Linked DNA regions of Homo sapiens: region 2 is linked to region 1. Evidence: promoter capture Hi-C in 16 types of primary human blood cells and fetal thymus (Javierre and others, 2016). All regions are on one chromosome and are shown on one strand. Each heading gives the region's core, a stretch centred on a gene start or on the middle of the fragment in contact. The rest is flanking DNA. Distances are from core to core; before and after follow the strand shown.

Evidence for each region. The method cuts DNA at HindIII sites, captures the fragments that hold promoters and counts their contacts. A CHiCAGO score of 5 or more calls a contact.
Region 2: a contact is called between a fragment that was not itself captured here and the fragment with the promoter of SRRM3 in region 1, in 2 of 17 cell types (M1 macrophages and megakaryocytes). The highest score is 8.2, in M1 macrophages.

What each region holds. Positions count from the first base shown.
Region 1 is chr7:76,200,646-76,203,649 of GRCh38, forward strand. SRRM3 (serine/arginine repetitive matrix 3) reads left to right here and starts at 1,251. Exons shown (of 15, transcript NM_001110199.3): 1 at 1,251-1,422. RefSeq lists a silencer at 1,098-1,337. The HindIII fragment of the contact is 9,812 bases long and covers 1-3,004 here.
Region 2 is chr7:76,113,066-76,116,515 of GRCh38, forward strand. It overlaps the pseudogene GRPEL1P3. Among named protein-coding and RNA genes, the nearest start is that of MDH2, 67 kb to the left of the region's middle. The HindIII fragment of the contact is 241 bases long and covers 1,500-1,740 here.

The DNA.
Region 1 (3,004 bases), core at 1-2,500:
TGTTGTTTTTGTTTTTTTGTTTTGTTTTTGTTTTTGAGACAAATTGAGGCTCTGTCACCTAGGATGGAGTGCAATGGAGCAATCTTGGTTCACTGCAACCTTCGCTTCTCAGGCTCAAGCCTTCCTCCCACTTCAGCCTCCCAAGTAGCTGGGACCACAGGTGCATGCATGCCACCACATCTGGCAAATTTTTGTATTTTTCATAGAGACAGGGTTTCCTCATGTTGGCCTGGCTGGTCTCAAACTCCTGAGCTCAGTGATTTCCCACCTCAGCCTCCTAAAATGTTAGGATTACAGATGTGAGCCACTGCATCCAGCCAAAATTTTAAAATTTAAAAAAATAATTTAAAATCTCCTGTCTCCATTAGGATGTCTCTCACACTACACCCTCCTTTTTTTTTTTTTAAATTTTTGAGATGGTGTCAAAAAATGACAGCCTCTGTCATTCAGGCTGGAGTGCAGTGGCGCCACCATAGGTCACTGCAGCCTCAAATTCCTGGGCTCCAGCGATCCTCCCACCTCACCTCCCTGGTGCCTTTTATTTTATTTTATTTTATTTTATTTTTGACCCTAAGTCTTGCTCTTGTCGCCCAGTCTGGAGTGCAATGGTGCGATCTTGGCTCACTGCAACTCCGCCTCCCAGATTCAAGCGATTCTCCTGCCTCAGCCTCCCAAGTAGCTGAGTAGTTGGGATTACAGGTGCCTGCGACCACGCCTGGCTAATTTTTGTATTTTTAGTAGAGACTGGGTTTCACCATGTTGGCCAGGCTGGTCTCGAATTCCTGGCCTCAAGTGATCCTCCCGCCTCAGTCTCCCAAAGTGCTGGGATTATAGGCGTGAGCCACCGCGCCCAGCCCCTGGTGCCTTCTTTAACACTGGGTGGGAAGAGAGTGTCCTGGCGAGGCCTCTGCACACCGACTGCATTTCCCAGATCCAAACTAATAACCTCCCTTGCCCCAGGCGCCTTCCAGGGCTGACATGCCTCCTCTCGCAAGTGGGGGAAACAGATGTCCCCGGGGGCTGGGGATAGGGGCGGGGGTGTGGGGAGGTGAGGGGCGAGGGGAAGGGGGGGAGGGGGGCGAAGGGGGCGGGGAGGAGGGGGAGCCGGCCGGGAGACGGCCCGGCCCAGCCGCCCGGGCTGTTGCCTCCGCTGCGGGCGTTCCTCCAGGCCTGCGGAGGGCGCTGCGGGCGCGGGGCTGGGCCGCTCTGGCTGGCGGGCGAGCAGAGAGGCGCCTCGGTGGCGGTGCGCTGTCCAGCATTTCAGCAAGCGGCGGCAGCACCCGCGGGGAGGCAGAGGGTGCGGGGCCGTGGGGGCCGCGGAGCTGCCCTGCCCAACTCAGCCCAGACTAGGCGGCAGCCCGGACCGGCGGGACCCGAGGGCCTGGCCCCAGCGCCCGGTAGATCGCGGCGGTCAGCGGTGAGGTGAGAGCGCCTGTGGGGCGGGGGCATATCCCCGAGGGGCTGGGGCTGGGTGGAAGCTCGGGCCTCCCCAGCACCCCCGTGGTCTGCAGGCTCCCCCGAGCAGAGGGGCAGTGTGGGAGGTCGGCGAGGGCGTCTGTCCGGGGGTGCCAGGCGCCCGGGGAGCAGAGATGAGGAACATTCATTTCACTGAGAGGGATGGAGACAGTGGAGACCTTTGGGGTCATGGGCAGGACTCCCCTGGGCATAAATGACCATGGCCTAGTCCATGAGGGTGCCAGGGAGGCCCCCCAACCGCAGTCCCACTGAGGAGAAGGACCTGCTCCCCAGGGAAGGGAGGACCGATGCAGTAACCCTGTGGAGATGCTGGTCACTGGCCCTGGTGAAGGGAGCAGGCCCCCACCTGGATGCTGGGCCTCTGTCCAGCAGGAGGTGCCGGCCCAGGGGACAGCCTGGCCCCTTTCCCGGCTACCCAAATGCCCCTAGGGAGGCAGGAGCTGGCAAGGAGAACTGGGTCTCACAGGATGGCATTTACTCTTGCACTGGGAAGAGGATGGAGGACACAGAAGAGAAAATAGCTACTAGGAATTTGGGAGGGGGTTCTCTGTGCACACCCCCCACCCCAACCACGGACGCCCAGAGAGAGTTTCTAGCCCAGAGTTAGACCTGCGCCAGAGTGAATTCCTGGTAAAGAAGAGAGCTGAGAAAAGACGCAGCCTCTGCCTTGCCTCCGCCTCCCCCTCCCTCCCAGGGCTCCTGCCTGGACAGTGTTGAAGCCTCCTGCAGTTCCTACTCCTGACAGCAGATCCATTGTGGGGAGAGATTTAGTGGGAGGAAGGGAAGGTTGTACCAAGGTCTGACGTGGTACTTCAATGCCTGTGCCCTATCCCAGCCATAACTTCTCGCTGTCCTAAGACCTCACTCACCCTAGCATCGGGGGCTTGAGCTGGTCTTTTGTCCCATGGCAAGAGAAAAGGCAGGTGCTGGGCTTTGACGGAGAGACGTGCACAAGTTCCTCTGTCCAGGGAGCATCTTAAGGTCATGGCCCCAGTTTGTGCCAGCTTCTTCCTCAGTCAAAAATAGGACCCAGCTGGCTAGGAAATTGTTCCCACACAGCAGTAGCTTTCTGGTTCCTTAACTTTATGCCCCATCCCACTCTCCTGTGGGGTGGAGGAGGTATTCTTGAAGACTGACTAAAGAGTCAACTGGGTTTTAAGAGGTAGGGGTATGTGGGTTGGGAGTCATGGACTCTGATGTCAGAAAGACATGGGATCAAATCTAGGTTATGTGACCTCAGGTAAGCCATTGACCTTTCTGAGTCTGTTTTCAATCTGTAAAACAGGTGTAGTGTTAGCAATGTCTACTTTGCTGTTGAAAGAAATAATCTGGATAAGGAGATGGGAGACTACTTTTACGGTATAAAATGCTGGGTGAGTGTTAGTAAATAGGAGACAAGTAAGAATTTCTTAAAGAAGAGCTGGATAAATGTGGAATAGTGTTCAGTGATATTTGAAGCACATTTTTCTGTTCCCAGAGGAGATGAACAGTGGTTGAGAGCCTCATGCCCAGCTCCATGCTGGGCACA
Region 2 (3,450 bases), core at 370-2,869, 87 kb before region 1:
GGAACACACTGTGTTGCCTTCTCCAAAACATCTGCAACCTCTAACGAGTCCTTGCAGAAGCCCTGAATGCTATACATATTTCCCTCCTCCACCAATTTTTGGCTGCTCTGCTCTGAGCCCTCAGTATCTGCCAGTGCTTGCTTATCTTCTTCCACAGCCTCCTTCAGCTGCTCTTCTAACTTGACTTCTTCCATGAGTATCTTGTCCATAGAGGGAGTATCTGTCCTCCATTTGGTTTGGATCCACATCCTCTTCCAAGTGCTGGCAACTGTTCTTTTGTTTTGTAGCTGTGTGCAGAACTGAGGAGAAGGCCTGGAGACAATGCCAACACCGGGAGACCGCGTGGCACCAGCCTCACGCATGGAGCCGCCGTGGCTGCCCCGGGATGATGATTTAAGTTTCCCCTCGCCCATCACTATATGCTTCTATGAAATGTTTTAAATTATTTTTATTCCTTCAGCATAATTATCAAATACATCTTTTATCTATTTTTTTCCTTATGACTTACAGATTCTGAGAGCTCAGAGCTATTTCCACTGCCTCACTTCTCATCCTCACTGCTTCTAGTTTTAAAATTAGGTCCTGGGTTGCTACCCCCGCTGAGGTTCTCACAATAATTAAAGCCTATTTGCTGGTTAAGGTTGCTTTGTTTTGGATACATACTTCTGTTCTTACAGTAATTACACAGCAGGGCAAATTACTCCTTGCATAAATATACACTTTAGAACAATGGAGTCATTTTAAAATATAGAAGGACACTTATCTTTCTACTTATTGTGGGAAAGATCATGGAAATGAAGATATAGTCATGTCTTAAACTGTATATTTTTTGTCCTCATGCAGGTACAAGGCTTTAAGTACATAATATATAATCAGTATCACTTTTTTTTTTTCTTTGAGACAGAGTTTTTTTGCTCCTGTTGCCAAGGCTGGAGGTGCAATGGCGCGATCTCGGCTACCTGCAACCTTCGCCTCCCAGGTTCAAGTGATTCTCCTGCCTCAGCCTCCCTAGTAGCTGGGATGACAGGCGCCCACTACCACGCCCAGCTAATTTTTTGTATTTTTAGTAGAGACAGGGTTTCACAATGCTGGCAAGGCTGGTCTCGAACTCCTGACCTCAGGCGATCCACCCACCTTGGCCTCCCAAAGTGCTGGGATTACAGGCATGAGCCACCGTGCCCAGCTCAGTATCAGATTTTTACAGAAGGACTGGCTAGAAAAAGAACAATGAAACAAGCAAAAGGTGTTACGTTGTGCTTAACTGCTTCCTGAGAAAAAAGAGCTTATCAGAATGACTACTAAGATGTCTTGTTGTAGAAACTGAATTGATTGCCCTGAAGGGAGTATTAAGGGATTAATAAAAATTAAAAAAATAAAAATAACTGAATTGAGAAACCCAAAAAATGGGCACTCCAGCCCATTTTAATAATAATTATTATTATTATTATTCAAGTTATGTTGTACATATTCGGTTTCAAAATTTAAAAATTTAAAAATTAAGCTTTATTAATTTGGTTCATCAATTTAAATTCTTGCTATGATTTGTAAGAACAGAAAAGTAGCTGGTGACAATCGTATGTTCAACATAAAAGGATTTTGTGTTAATGACATGGCTGCCTATCTCATTTGCAATGGAAATATCTTGTTTAAAGGACCTATACAGGTACTACAAGAGTATACATGTTTTAACATTAAATAGCTACTAAGAATAGCAAGAAAGAAAACAGAGCAAAATAAACAAGCTTCAGAAAAGTATTAGCAAACAACAATATTTGCTGAATAGCACTGGGTGCAGTGGCTCACACCTGTAATCTCAGCTCTTTGGGAGGCCAAGTTGGGAGGATCACTTGTAATTCAGGAGTTCAAGACTAGCCTGGGCAACACAGGGAGATCCCGTCTCTACAAAAACTAAAAAACTCAGCCAGACATGGTGGTGTGTGCCTATAGTCCCAGCTACTCAGGAGACTAAGGCAGGAGGATCACTTGAGTCTGGGAGGTCAAGCCTGTGGTGAGCTGTGACTGTGCCACTGGGCTCCAGTCTAGGAGACAGAGTAACACCCTGCTTCAAAAAAAGAAAGGAAGGAAGGAAAGGAAAGAAAGAGAGATGTGTTGCACAGTACAGCATTACATGGAAATACTGCAGTGGGTATGAAAATTATTAGGTGCTGAAATTTAAATTCTAAAAACAAAAAACATCTAAGTGTAGATAAAGTGTTTCTCGATAAAGATAAAATGGCTTAAAAATTTTAAGGCAGGCCGGGCACGGTGGCTCACGCCTGTAATCGCAGCACTTTGGGTGGCCGAGGCGGGCGGATCACGAAGTCAGGAGATCGAGACCATCCTGGCTAAGATGGTGAAACCCCGCCTCTACTAAAAATACAAAAAAATTAGCCGGGCATGGTAGCGGGTGCCTGTAGTCCCAGCTACTCGGGAGGCTGAGGCAGGACAATGGCGTGAACCTGGGAGGCGGAGCTTGCAGTGAGCCGAGATTGTGCCACTGCACTCCAGCCTGGGCAACAGAGCGAGACTCCGTCTCAAAAAAAAAAAAAAACAATTTAATGCAGTTCGGAAAAGATTTTTCTGGAGTTGACCCATATGCTGAAAAGGCTGCTCACCGCCGGCATGTACAGGGATTGGAGAAAACAGAAATGATGTGGGAAAAGATGTGGGCAAGAGCGGATCACTCTTCTGGATCTCAGAAATTTTAGAAAGCAAATACTGTGGGATGCAGTAGGAACAATTATCCGTTTATGGCAAGGCTGCCTGGGCAGTTTTTAAACAGGTAAGAATGAATTCTTATATTGCATAGGCCCTTAGGATACCATCTAGAAAGTTTAGTTGGTGGGAATAACATGAATTTAAAGTTTTTAAGCAGTTTTGATAAATTGAGTACAAAGGCTATTTTATACTACCACATTCTTCACAACGTCAGAGGAACTGCCCCAAGAAATTTATATGATTACTGATCTGAAGTTAGTTAGGTTAGTTCAGGTGTAAAGAGTGTTTATTTACTTATTTGAAAGGACATTAACTTGCAGCCAAAGGCCAAAAGGGCTTCTCTAGGGACATTCAGTTTAAAAAACATCTCTTTCATATACAGTATGTGCAGACTTCATGTTGGACACTAAAGATACCGGAGATACATGCACAGGACTTGGCCACCTAACTATGAAACACACAGTGTAGAAATGGAAAATAGGTGGCTTAGTGGCTCTTCAAACAGGAGAAATCTGAGGCCATATCCAGGTGTCTGATATAAACTAGTGATGCCTTACAAATAGGCATGGTGATATTTGTACTAGTTAATTACCTCTTTACTTTAGTACACTAATTTAGAAGTCTACTAAATTATTATAGAACAAGAACACATCACACTTCCGAGCAAAAGAAAAACATCAAATCCAAGTTGAGCAATTTTCTAAAACATATTATTATACAGCATATATGCTT